5 separate regions of the Homo sapiens genome follow, and regions 1, 2, 4 and 5 are each linked to region 3. Evidence: promoter capture Hi-C in 16 types of primary human blood cells and fetal thymus (Javierre and others, 2016). All regions are on one chromosome and are shown on one strand. The core of a region is centred on a gene start or on the middle of the fragment in contact, and the rest is flanking DNA. Distances in the headings are between cores, read along the strand shown. Region 1 overlaps KDM6A (lysine demethylase 6A). Region 2 has its middle 8.7 kb from the start of DIPK2B. Region 3 holds the start of NDP (norrin cystine knot growth factor NDP). Region 4 overlaps DIPK2B (divergent protein kinase domain 2B). Region 5 overlaps KDM6A (lysine demethylase 6A).

The links. The method cuts DNA at HindIII sites, captures the fragments that hold promoters and counts their contacts. A CHiCAGO score of 5 or more calls a contact.
Region 1: a contact is called between a fragment that was not itself captured here and the fragment with the promoter of NDP in region 3, in 1 of 17 cell types (naive CD4 T cells). The highest score is 6.7, in naive CD4 T cells.
Region 2: a fragment that was not itself captured here is called in contact with the fragment with the promoter of NDP in region 3 in 4 of 17 cell types (erythroblasts, naive CD8 T cells, total B cells and 1 more); the score reaches 6.7 in erythroblasts.
Region 4: a contact is called between a fragment that was not itself captured here and the fragment with the promoter of NDP in region 3, in 1 of 17 cell types (fetal thymus). The highest score is 5.3, in fetal thymus.
Region 5: a fragment that was not itself captured here is called in contact with the fragment with the promoter of NDP in region 3 in 1 of 17 cell types (total CD4 T cells); the score reaches 6.0 in total CD4 T cells.

The regions. Positions count from the first base shown.
Region 1 is chrX:45,076,882-45,079,581 of GRCh38, forward strand. It overlaps KDM6A (lysine demethylase 6A), which reads left to right. Exons shown (of 30, transcript NM_001291415.2): 20 at 1,519-1,624; 21 at 2,265-2,470. Among named protein-coding and RNA genes, the nearest start is that of DIPK2B, 120 kb to the right of the region's middle. The HindIII fragment of the contact is 5,581 bases long and covers 1-2,700 here.
Region 2 is chrX:45,208,251-45,210,950 of GRCh38, forward strand. No RefSeq gene overlaps it. Among named protein-coding and RNA genes, the nearest start is that of DIPK2B, 8.7 kb to the left of the region's middle. The HindIII fragment of the contact is 3,604 bases long and covers 1-2,700 here.
Region 3 is chrX:43,972,114-43,974,813 of GRCh38, forward strand. NDP (norrin cystine knot growth factor NDP) reads right to left here and starts at 1,277. Exons shown (of 3, transcript NM_000266.4): 1 at 1,191-1,277. The HindIII fragment of the contact is 1,267 bases long and covers 975-2,241 here.
Region 4 is chrX:45,182,597-45,185,296 of GRCh38, forward strand. All of the region lies in intron 2 of DIPK2B (divergent protein kinase domain 2B), which reads right to left. Among named protein-coding and RNA genes, the nearest start is that of DIPK2B, 17 kb to the right of the region's middle. The HindIII fragment of the contact is 256 bases long and covers 1,252-1,507 here.
Region 5 is chrX:45,059,848-45,062,547 of GRCh38, forward strand. It overlaps KDM6A (lysine demethylase 6A), which reads left to right. Exons shown (of 30, transcript NM_001291415.2): 13 at 175-309; 14 at 762-917; 15 at 1,477-1,572. Among named protein-coding and RNA genes, the nearest start is that of DIPK2B, 140 kb to the right of the region's middle. The HindIII fragment of the contact is 2,123 bases long and covers 377-2,499 here.

The DNA of each region.
Region 1 (2,700 bases), core at 1-2,500, 1.1 Mb after region 3:
CATAAAATCTTTAAATTTACATGGATGCCCTTTAGGAAACATTACAATTATTGGCAGCAGATTAAATAGTTTGGGGGCGGGGGGGAAGATATATTCAAGAAGATTTTGTAATAGCATTTTTAAAGGACCTTCTCAGCTATTAACTGTGATGATATTAGAATCATGAGAAACATTTTTTATTGCCCTAATTTTGAGCAGCGTTAGGAAAAAGCTACCTAAAAGTGTAACTTTTTTTAGTAAACTGGGTTTTAAATCCACATTCTACTTAGTTATGTGGACCTTAACATTCATTCTGTTTTATACATCTACCCCCCCAAAAAAGATACTACCTTCAAAATAAGTGTTTGAGAACATAAGTGTGATAGTAGATATATGTGACTAAAAAAACTTAATAGGTTATTTAAAACATTTAAAACTAGATACTAGTTTTACTTTATAGAAATATAGGAATCTGATATAGGAAGTCATTAGCAGTTCAATCAAAACAATTCCTATTTCTGTTTCTTCCAAATAGATCTTCCTATCCTATTTCCTTTCATTTTCCTGCTTCTATCCCAAATTAAAATTTTGTAAGTATAAAGTTAGGGTAGTATATGTATAATGATCTTGCATCTATAAAATGGTACTAGAGTTTGTTTTATAGATTTAACCCCCTTGCCCTCTAGAGGCCAAATATTATCATATTAATTCTTCCTCCAACCAGTTGTTGTTTATCCCTTACTATGTAAGGGAAGCACTGGGATAGACATGTAAAAAAACTTGTAAAGTGAGCTCTGAGGAGAAAAAAAAATGCAAAATTAAGTTTTTATCTTTTATGGGTCCTCTTCAGTCTGCTTTCTTTGATAATATTTGTTTAGGCATAATTTTTTTTCTTTTCCTCTCTTATATTGTGATTTTTTAAAAACACATAGCATAAAATTTACCATCTTACCCATTTCTGAGTGTGCAGTTCAGTACTGTTAAGCATATTCACATTGGTGTCCAACCAATCTCCAGAACTTTCTCATCTTGACAAACTGAAACTACACACTGAACAACTACCCATTTCTCCCTCCTGCCAGCCCCTGGCAACTACCATTCTACTTTCTGTTTCTATAAATTTGACTATTCTAGATACCTCATGTAAGTGGAACCATACAATATTTGTCTTTTTGTGACTGGCTTATTTCACTTAACATAATGTCCTCAAGATTCATCCATGTTGCAGCATGTGTCAAGATTGTCTTTTCATTTTAAGACTGAATAATATTTAAAACACTTTGATTTTGAAGTTTAATTTCAGTTTCATTTCTCCTACATATTTTTGTCATGATAAAATGGAAAGGAGAAATGTATGTGGTTACTATCTGATTAAAACTAGAATCAAAAGTCACAGTGATAAGATACTGTCAAATAGAAATATCACCCCATAAAATGCGTTATTTAAATTGTGAAAAATAATGAATATTAATTTGGAGCATAATATTTAAATAAAAGCTCTGTTTTCCTGAGATCTAACCACATATTTTAATTTTACAGTTGGAAAATAAACGTGATGCTTTCTTTCCTCCATTACATCAATTTTGTACAAATCCGAACAACCCTGTTACAGTAATACGTGGCCTTGCTGGAGCTCTTAAGTTAGGTAAGCCTTAAATTAAAAAAGGAAAACGTTTGTCTCTTTGTTTTGCTATCTTTTAACTTTTCCAGCACTGGCAGATACTTTTCTTTTTTTTCTTTTTTCTTTTTTTTTCTTTTTTTGTATTTTAATTTTACTTTTTTTTAGTACTAAGAATGAGAGAGAGTGTGTGTATCACTTCTTTAATCCATGATGTGAATATATTGTTGGTGATACTGGTTACTGACAATTTGGTGGAGGTTTTTAAATTTAGCTATTACTTTGGTCCGTTTACATAATTGTGATTTAGGTTAATAGAAAAAATTTGATTATAAAATGTAGGTGAAATTTGATGCTACTAATAAATACTATAGCCCCATAAGTATTTCCTGGCATCTGCAGAAATTAAATAAATAAGTGAAATTTCAGTCCTTTCACACTTAATTCTTTCTCGGATGGGATGACATAGCAGTTAGATTCAGGGCTTCAGCGTATGGTTCTGCAAACTTGGCACATAGCTCAGGTTGTGCAGAGGCCCTAGTTTTTTATGGGAACTGGATACAGTGCCGTAAAATGCTTTACCTTCTTCCTTTAAAAAAAAAAAGCACTTAAAATATTATCCCAAATATAATTTTCATTTTTTAACTACATTTATGTATTCATGAAGACCTGGGACTTTTCTCTACTAAAACTTTGGTGGAAGCTAACAATGAACATATGGTAGAAGTGAGGACACAGTTGTTGCAGCCAGCAGATGAAAACTGGGATCCCACTGGAACAAAGAAAATCTGGCATTGTGAAAGTAATAGATCTCATACTACAATTGCTAAATATGCACAGTACCAGGCCTCCTCATTCCAGGAATCATTGAGAGTAAGTATTTGTATCCTAAAGATTATTTTAGGATTTTAAAGATGATTTTACTTTGGAGTTTTGAAAGGACACATTACTTTTATATGCATCTCATCATTTTATGTTACATAAAATACTTTGTAAGTGTTCTCCAGTTGTCTCGTATGTATATATGTATGTATGTATGTATGTATGTATGTATGTATGTATGTACGTACGTATGTGTATTTTGAGACGGAGTCTCCATCTGT
Region 2 (2,700 bases), core at 46-2,545, 1.2 Mb after region 3:
TACCCCCTTCAGTGCCTCTTTCAGCAATGTGAAGTTAAAACCAGGTACTTTGAAAAGAAATGTTCAAGAATGTTATCTTGAATTTCTTTGAGTTTCCTCAACACAGCTATTTTGAATTCTTTGTCTAAAAGGTCACATATCTCTGTCTCTGCCAAATTGGCCCCTGGCACCTAATTTAGTTCACTTGATGAAGTAATGTTTTCCTGAATGGTACTGGTGCTTATAGATGTTCTTTGGCATCTGGGAATTGAAGAGTTAGGTATTTATTGTAGTCTTCACAGTCTGGGCTTATTTTTACCTGAAGTTCTTGGGAAGGTTTTCCAGGTTTTTGAAGGGACTTGGGTGTTGTGATCTAAGTTTTTGGTCACTGCAGCCATATCTGCATTAGGGGGCACCCCAAGCCCAGTAATGCTGTAGTTCTTGTGGACTCATAGAGTTACTGCCTTGGTGGTCTTGGATAAGATCTGGATGAATTCTCTAGATTACCAGAGACTCTTGTCCTTTTTCCTTACTTTCTCCCAAACAGAGTTTCTCTCTCTGTGCTGAGCTGCCTGGAGCTGAGGGATGTGTAACACAAGCACTCCTGTGACTATACCACTGGGACTGTGCCGGGTCAGACCTGAAGCCAGCTCAGCACTGGGTCTTGCCCAAGGCCCGCTATAACCACTACCTGGTTACCATCTATATTTGCTCAAGGTCCTAGGTCTCTACAATCAGCAGTTTGTGAAGCCATTCAGTCTTGTGTCCTTTCCTTCATGGTGGCAAGTTTCCCAGGGCCCTAGGAAGATCTAGAGATGCTGGAGTCAGAGTCAGAAACCTTAAAAATCTACCTGGTGCTCTACTATACTGCAGCTAAACTGGCACCAAAAACCACAAGATGAAGTCCTTCCTACTCTTTCTTCCCCTTTCCTAAGGTAGAGGAGTCTATCCCTATGTCCACCACTATCACAGGCCCACAGAAAGTACTGCCAGGGTACCACTGATATTCAGTTAAGGCCAAGGGCTCTTCAATCAGCTTGTGCTGAATGCTGCCTGGCCTGGGACTCACTCTTCAGGGCAGTGGGCTTCTCTCTTGTCCAGGGTCAGTCCAGACATACCATCTAAGAGCCAAGACCTGGATTAGTGACCCTAAAAAGCCTGCTTGGTGCTCTACTTCTCTGTGGCTGAGCTGGTTCCTAAGATGCAAGACAAAGTCTCCTTACTCTTCTCTCCACTTCTCTCAAATAGAAGGAGTTTTGCCCCTTAACCACCTCAGATGAGAATGTGCTAAGTCTCACCTGAAGCCAGCACGTCTGAGTCTCACCCAAGGGCCACGGCGTATACTACCTGGTTACCACTACTACCACTACCACTCGGTTATTCCGAACCCAAGGGCTCTTTAGTCATATGGTGATGAATCTTGCCTGGACTGGGTTCTTCCTTTCAAGGCAGTGGGTTCCTTTCTGGCCCAGGGTGTGTACAGAAATATCTGGGAGCTAGGGTCTGGAATGAATCTCACAGCTCTGCTTGGTGCTCTATTCTACTGTGGCTGAGGTGGTATCCAAGTTGCAAAGCAAAGTCTCATTTACTCTTCCCTATTCTCTCCTCAAGTGGAAGGAAGGGGTCTCTTTTGGAACTACAAGCTGCACTGCCTTGAGGTGGAGGAGGGGTGACGAAAGCACTCCCTTAGCCACCTCAACCTGTGTCTCATCAGGTTGCATGCCCCCCACATTCACTGGCTTCGAGCCCAGCACAGCACTAGGATTCGCCTAGGAGTCGCAGTTCTTGTGGCCTAGATAGCATTTCAGGTTTATTTAGGATCCCATAGCACTTTAGCCCACGGTGGTGAGGCTTGCCAAAATTCATATTTTGAGCACTAGGATGGGTGGTTCCCCTCTGCATAGAGCTGATCTAAATGTTTCCTCTGTGGGCATTGGCTGAGTTCTGCCTGATGTTGGCAGGACTGAGTTCCAATGCAAAGTCCCACAGTCACTGATTTTCCCTCCCCTAAGCACACAGATTCTCTCTCCACATCATGTGGCTGCTGCCATGGGGATGGGGATGGTGGTGTCAGCAATTCAAGACGGGTTTTCCTACCCCCTTCAGTGCCTCTTTCAGCAATATGAAGTTAAAACCAAGTACTTTGATCATACACCTGATTTTTTGCTCTTATGAAGGTACTTTTTTGTGTACATAGTTGTCAGATTTGGTGTTACTGTGGGGAGGATGATTGATGGAGGCTTCTATTTGGCCACCTTGCTCCACCTCCTCCTTATCACTTGTTCTTAACAATTATGCTTGAATTGGTCATGAAAAATTTCATGAGACATTAAACAAAGCTAGCCACTGAAGGACTTCAAGGAAGGCCACCGCGAAATATGCCACTTTGGTATATAATCACTTCAGGCTGAAGGTACTTAAAAAATAGCAAATGCAGGGAGAGCTTTTCTCTGGATTCCCCTTATCTGCCTAAATAGAGATCCAACACCCAGAGAAGATCAACTCCTATCAAAGGAGAGAAAACTAGAAGTTGACACTATATCCAGACAAACTATCACAAACTGTCATCTATTCCTCTTGGGGCCTATTTATCTTTCCCTCAAATCATTTAATCTCCCCTAAATTGTCTACATTCTCCCTCCTCTCTTCCCTATGAAGAGGACATACAAGCTCCTAAATCTCACTGCTTTTTGGTGCGGGGTGGGTGAATTTGTTTTCTTT
Region 3 (2,700 bases), core at 27-2,526:
GTAATTAAAATACACTAATATTAGAAATGAAAAGAGACATGTTTCACAGCAGCCATATCTGTTATTAATGAGTTACAAAGAACTGTACAAGGGACTCCCATCTTGCCAAATAGCTTCCTTTCCCGCACCTGAATCTCAGTAAAGATGGGAGTCTGCCTCTCATGGAGGCTTATCTGGGTTTGTCTATTACAATGAGCCTCAGTTACTGGGCGTTCTGAGTCATTAACATTCTGTACACAATCAAACTTCCCGTCCCCCAAGAAAGAGTTATGCCCAGGCCTCCTACAGCTCAATTGTTCATTTAAAGAGAGAACTTGTATTCCAAAGTTTGAAAGAAACCTCGGAATATCCCGCAGGTAGGAGTCATTCCTACAGGTCCTGGTCTCTGTGCTGGTGGGAGCATCCTTTCCCGGTCACTCCTTGAACATCATGCTGCAGGGACGAGCTGATGACTAAAAATAACCCCCTGCAATAAGTCCAAGGCAAACAGCATGCATTTCCTCGGACTTTTTGCCCAATCAAAATCATACAGTAAATCCATCCTCATCTCCTCCCGGTGCTCCCCAATGCATCTATGGAAGCGAAGACCTGCACGCTGAAAGAAGAGTGCAAGGGAGCAGGATTCCTGCAAAGCGTGACACAGAAAGCTAGAAATAAATGTTGCCTATTGTTTGAAGTCATTCTGAGCACTCCGGCAGAGCCCTGGCAGGAGATCAGCAGCATACATAAGTAGTAATAAAAGTAAACAGTGCGCTTTTAAACTCGCAGTCTTGCCTGCGTTAATAGTGCCCCCATTGTAAGTGGGATGAGGGTGCTGGGGAAGATACTGGGCTCCATGAATCCATGTTGGCAAGTTGCTGCTTCGCAGCCCCCTTTCACGGGGTCAACTATAAGAACCATCACAAAGTTACATCTAACTACGCAGAGAGTTTGAAAAGAAAAATCTCTTTAAGTCAAACCAAAAGATATTTTCAAGCTTTTCTAGGAGGCTCCCTGCTCTGTCACAGACTTCAAAGACCCGTTCATTTAAGAAACACAATGCTAGCATGCTACAGATTAATGCAAATTAAAGTAATGCAAATTTAAGTGGTATTTAAAGGTTGTCTCTTTGTCTGAGAGGAGGATGAAATGCTCGGTTTGGAAAGAAGCGATTTCCTAGGCAAGCCGGCAGCGCTTGTTTTCCTGCTTACCTTAGGGGAACGCAGGGCTCCTTTCTTCTCAGACTTTTCTGAGAGCTAGAAAGAGGTCCTGTTACTTCCAAATGCTTTTGTTCTTCTGTCCCTCTGTCACATGGCTTGCCTTTTATATTTGCAACACACAAAAGTTAGGACTGTTGTTTAAGCGACACAGGGAGAGAGAGAGAGGGAGAGAGAGAGGGAGAGAGAGAGAGGGAGAGAGAGAGAGAGAATGTCAAATGGAAAAGTGCCATTGCAGTCATATATCAATCAGGCGTGCGGCCGCAGCAGCGCACTAGCAAATGGGAATGCCACGGAAATGTGAGGCGCTCGTTATCGGGGACTCAGCCTCTGCCCACCGCTCGGCTCCCTTCCACGGAGCATCTTACGATGGGAACAGCGTAGCAGAACAAGGGCGAGGAAGTTTCTTTCTTTCTTTCTTTTTTAATGGTATTATGGAACTAATAAGAGGCCAAATGAATATTCTGAATTTAATTCTTTTTCAAGCATGTGGCTGCCATAAAGATGTGCCGTCCGCAATAGAGACGTATAGTTTTGGAAATACAAAGGCAGTGTGGCATTCTGTTGAACGATTCGGCAGCTGACTGTGATGAAGTTGAAATTTTAAGTAAGAGAGGGGAAAGATGGGAACCAGAAATTTTTTTCTCAGGCGATGCTGTTAAAGCAAGTGCAAAACGCTGCCCTATTTTATCACGATGTGTGTGGGTGGTGAGAGTTCTTTTTTTCCGGGTTGTTCATCCATTAAATGATTTTTAGCAGCATATACATGATTAAATTCACAATGGCACTTTAATAAGCCCCTTCATCTGCATCATTTAGAATAAAACTTTAGGTCTGATTTAGAAACAATGAGAACGTGTATTCCTTGACTCCTTGAGCTATATGAAGGAGAAACTAATAGATAAAGCTAACCCATTACACAACAACTAGTAGAAAAGTGACAAAGGTAACTATGTGTGTGGGTTAAATACCTGCAGCTGAATCATGCTGTGTTATGAGCTGTGGGACTACAAAGGCAAATATTTCATAATTCTTGCCCTTTGAAAGCTTAAAATTAACACAGAAAACCGTCAGGGATTTTGGAGGAAAATACAAAGAACATTTAATAATTATTTTATGTCAGGTAAATCAGACCCAGAATAATTTGTTTTATTAATACTACTGATGAAGAATTAAACTGAGAATTTAAAATATATATATTTCGTGGAAAAAATAATACATTATAAAACTCAAAAAGAAATTTTTCTTGGGAGCTTCATGTAATTGTTGATGCTGAAACTGTCTTGTTCAACTCTGTATCAAACTATTTGTTATTCATTAATAAATTTACATTCACCTTATTACTTTTCCATGGGACCTTTACTCCAGTCACTGATATTTGCAAGAGGTGTCTTAAAACTTTCAGTTTTATTGCCAGAAATCCCTTTTCTTATGCTCCACTTGGAAAAAAAAATACCCTGTCTACCTTGGACCAGCCAGTCACAAACAGAATCCACCTGCGAAG
Region 4 (2,700 bases), core at 130-2,629, 1.2 Mb after region 3:
TTCACAATAGTGCAAACTAAATACAGCCCAAATGTTCATCAACAGCAGAATGCATACAGTGTGAAACCATCACAGAGCGGTGTTGTTTCACACACTGCAGTGAAAAAGAACACCAACCACGGATTCACGCAACAACATGGATAAATAGCATGATGTGTTGTGTACATATTGTACGATTCCATTTAAATGAAGTTCAAAAACAGGTAAAACTAATCCATGGTGAGTTAAGTCAGAATAGCAGCTACCTTTGGGAAGGGTCAGGGTAACCAACTGTTCAGGTTGTCCTGCAGCTGAGAGGTTTCAGTGTGAAAGCTGGGAGAGTCCTAAGCAAACTGGGATGGTTGGTCACCCTAGAATGTGGTCTTTTTTGGGAAGGCACATGAAGGAGCCTTTTGAGGGGCCAGAAATGTTCAGTATCTTGATATGGATGGTGGCCACGAGTAAATACACGAGTGAAAATTTATCCAGCTATGCACTTAAGATATATGTGTTTATGTATGCAGTTTATACTTTAATTGAAAATCTTTAAAAATAGCTATATGTTACAAAGCACAGAGTATGAAGAAAGCAAAGACAATAGGGCCATTAGAATTTTGGTGGATAACAAAATGAAGGCCCGATTTTCATTTCTAATGTTTGCTTGTTTTCTCTTTCAGGTGTTGGGACTTTGATGGGAAAAAGGTGAAGCAAAATGTGGTAAACAGGAATGAAAAGCCAGAATGAATAAAGGAAGCCTTCATTGTTCTGAGTGAGTTCCCCAGCCTGAGAGATTCACAGAGACCTGGCAAATGATATTGCTGAACCATGGGCAGTGAATGCAGAGAACAGAAAAGGCATGAAAATCCATTTCTGATATTTAAAAAGAGCAAGAGGGTAGATTTCACAAATTAGTGATTAGTGGGCTGATCCTGGATCACAGGAAATATTCTAAAACAGGTTATTCATAGGATAATTTGTGAGCCTCCAGATGGGGAAATGATGATCTTAAGGAGTCACTGAGGATTCTTTTAATCAAATCATTCCAGACTAACAACTTTTTTTTCTTTGACCTGGTAGTTTGATTTTTAATCAGAGAAATTCAATAGACAGAATATATGAACTTTAGTGAAGCATTCAACAGTGATTCTCATGAGACCCCTATAAAACAAAAGGGGAAACAAGATTTGGGCTGCATAGAAAAATTAAGATGATTAGTAATTGGTTAACTGAGTTTACCTAACAACTAACGGATTAACCCCTATAGAGAAAGAAAGCTTTTTATTTGGCCCTGTTCTGGTTAACATTTTTATAGAGGACTAAGACATAGATAAAAATTGTGTTCATCAAAACTGAGAATAATATGTACTTGGGGTGATACGGGGTATGATAAGTATCAGAAACAAGTTGACAGGCTAGAATAATGGATTTAATATAAGAAGATCATATATAACAGGATAAACAAAAGGTTCTGTCCTTGTGAACTAAAATCTAGCTACAGAAGGGGTTTCAGTTGACATAACATTTAAGAAGCTTCAATATGAGAGGAATGCCGAGATGAAAAAGAGAACTGGGGATGTTTACAATGGGGAAGCCAGGATTTAGGAGCTGCGTGTATGGGAGGGCATATGTCATGTATAATCTGTATGATTCCAGGGCGTAGAAATACTTTACATAAGTGAGAGCTACAAGAAGACAGATTTGGGATGAACTTTCCAAGTATCTGTTCTGTCCAAAGAAGGCATAAGCTGAAGGTAGTGAGTTTCCTGTCACTGTATGATACGGTAGATGACCCTTTGCCTTACAGAAAGGATGCAAATATGTTAGAGTTCAAATTGCTGAGCTTTCAAATTTATTTCAACCCCAAGAATCTATGACATATGTGTAATTCAGTAAGTAGAAATAGATTTTGATCTTTAACAAATTGATATATTGCTCTGTGGTTTGCTCTCATATATAAACCAGGAATAAATATATTTATTCCCTGCTTAACCCACACAAAAGGTTTATAAATTATGCCTTCCACAGACCTCTTGATAATCCTAAGAGAGAAGCGCTAACACAATTGTAAAAATTATTACTGCCATAAGTGGCCTTGAGTTAGGAACAAATTAATATGCGTTTTTAATATCTTTTTGTATTATTTCTCCACATTAATGACCGAACTTGTGTCAACAGCAGCCTAACAGAACCCTGGATTGATTTTCAATTTTCCTCTGAGCAGTGATTTGGCAAAGGCTAAATCATAGTTTGGGGAAATATAGAGTTTTCATCATTGTTATTATCCTGATATTATTACAATTTCAATTATTTGCTCTGTGGCTCAAAAGATAATGTTTTTACATTTCTGCTTTGGTATTTTTTTTTCCTATTATAGTTAATGTCTGATGTGATTCTCTTTTGATTAGATAAAATGATCTTTAATATTTCTACTTTAAAAAATGTATTGAGGGGTTTTGTGGCTTAATACACAGAACACAATCACGGTAGCACAATCAATTGATATAGTGGTTAAGTTCTGCTTATTAGGCCACAAATATTGTGTTAGAACACAATCACTATATTAACTGATGTCTTCCAAGTGACTTTCTTTATAGATAAATACTATATATTATATAGTTTAACCTTTGATTCCTTCATAGCATGTGGACATGCATAGAGGGACAGCCAATCCAGAGGCCTCTGGGCCAAGTCACACTTAACGGCAAAAGCATTTTTTTCTGA
Region 5 (2,700 bases), core at 188-2,687, 1.1 Mb after region 3:
CACAAAGGTTTATATTCCGGTTACCCTGTTTATACTTAGTGTCTTCTAAAGCCCCAAATTTAGAATCTATTTTCTTTTAAAAACAATTAGCTATAGCATTTAGGAAGATTTAGTGGACTTGCTCTTACTCAAGTAGGCTTGTGTTAAATTTGCTTTTTACATAATTTTTCCTAGGCTCAGTTGTGTAACCTTCCACAAGGTAGTCTACAGAATAAAACTAAATTACTTCCTAGTATTGAGGAGGCGTGGAGCCTACCAATTCCCGCAGAGCTTACCTCCAGGCAGGGTGCCATGAACACAGCACAGCAGGTGAGAAGTTGGGTTATGTTCTGCAGGTGCCCAGCTTTAAGGGTTCTTTTCAATTCTCTAGTGGTCAAGCTTAATTTACTAAGCACAGGAGGCTTTTAGTAATGAAAAGCCTTTTGATTTAATTGCAAAGGGAATCTAGATCAAAATAAAATTCCCTCTAATATGGGAAGAGATTTTGGGGTACCAACTTAGAACCTTTGTGCATTTTCATGATTTTGAAGGAGATTTCTTAAAATAATGCTACAGTGGTTTGTTTAATTTTTAAGGCAAGTTTTTCAAAGGAAGGTACACATTATTCCATTGATGAATCATTTAATTTTGATTTTCAATCATTGCAATCAGCGATGTCCACATAGCTTTGAAAAGTATGCAGCTTGTAAAGTTTTATAATTTGAAGGAATGAATTAAGAATATATAGAACCCTATTTTTGTCTTCCTTCTGTGATTCTTAGGCATGTAAACCTCATCATCCAAATACTGAACCTGTATTAGGCCTCAGTCAAACACCAATTTCACAGCAATCCTTGCCACTACACATGATTCCTTCTAGCCAAGTAGATGACCTGTCCAGTCCTGCCAAGAGGAAAAGAACATCTAGTCCAACAAAGGTATATGTTTTAGAGAAATAGAAAATCCCAGTCAAAAAAGAAGTTTCAGCTGCCCTGAAATTGTGCAGTTTGAACATTTCCTGTCCTTTATTTTAAATTTGTGGACATCAAAGAGTGAAAGGTTTGAGTTTTTCCATCCCAAACCCTTAGTATCATATTAAATATAGAAAGTAGGGATAAATTTGCATTCATCAAATCATTTTATTCATCTCCCTGCCGTTAAGATCCCAGCACACTTTTCATCATCACTTTTTACTGACATTGAAATAAATTTAATGTTGGATCTAGTGGACAGTGTGGTGTTTAGGCTAGCCGTTTGGGCCATAGTTTGAGGGTGGGCCTTTTTGGGTGGCTTATTAAATAGTCAGTAATTTTTAAATGTATGATTTCTAAGTTTAATATGCATGTAAAATTATTTTTTAAAGAATTTAATGTTATAACATCTTTTTAACATGTAAATATTCCAATTCATAGTCATTTGGCCTCCTCTAACCATTATTATTAACTGTGGATTTAACCAAATATTCTTTAATTTTTTTTTTAAATCGATTTTCCTCAGAATACTTCTGACAATTGGAGTGGTGGACATGCTGTGTCACATCCTCCAGTACAGCAACAAGCTCATTCATGGTGTTTGACACCACAGAAATTACAGGTATGTAAGATGTTTTTGACAAATTGTTTATTAAAAAGGAGTAGAGGTAGCAAACAAGTATTAATTTTTTTTTTTTTTTTTTTTTTTTTTGAGATAGAGTCTTGCTCTGTCACCCAGGCTGGAGTATAGTGGCACGCTCTTGGCTCACTGCAACCTCCGCGTCCTGTGTTAAAGTTATTCTTGTGCCTCAGCCTCCAGAGTAGCTGGGATTACAGGCACGCACCATCACACCCCGCTAATTTTTATATTTTTGGTAGAGACTGGGTTTCGCCATGTTGGCCAGACTGGTCTTGCACTCCTGACCTCAAGTGATCCACCTACCTCAGCCTCCCAAAGTGCTGAGATTACAGGTGTGAGCCACTGCACCCAGCCCTAAGTATTAATTCTTATAAGTTAAATGGCAGTACATTCAATTAAAATGCACAAAAGTAAAATGAGCCTGCATTTACCAGAATAATGAAGAGCATTCATTCTTGTTTTTAATTTCTTTTTTTTTTTTTAAACAGGACATGGTTTACACTACATAAAGTATAAATATAGGGTATATAGGGTAAAGTTTTCTTCTAACTCTGGCCCCTACCCACTCAAAATGTGGCTGGTATTACTAATTTCCTATCTATCATTCCAGAGGTATGTTATGTATGTACAAGCAAATATACATCCCCCCCTTTCTCACATGTATTATTATTTTTCTTCTTTTTTACACAAATGATAGGATTCTTATTTGCTGTTAACAACATATTTTACAGACTTCTGCATGTCAATATGTGAAGAGCTTCCTTGTTCTTTTATGGTTACATCATATTTCTTTATATAGATGTAACACCTTTATTTAAGCAGATCAGTAATTTTGGACATTCAGGTTGTCTTCAGACTTTGCTTATTCCAGACAGTGCTGCTTTTAGCATACTTGTCAATATATTTTTAAGCTTCAAGAGTTTTCTCTGTGAATACCTAAGAATACTGTATGGATGAGTAAAATTTCATGCCCATCTATTACAAAGAACTCATAGTAAATCTTGTTCAGATGAATGCTTAGTTCATTCTTATATTTCTCAAGCTTATTAAAGGACTTCATCTTGGAGTGTGTGACTGTTGGTCAGAAGACAGTGTGTTTGACCAGATAGT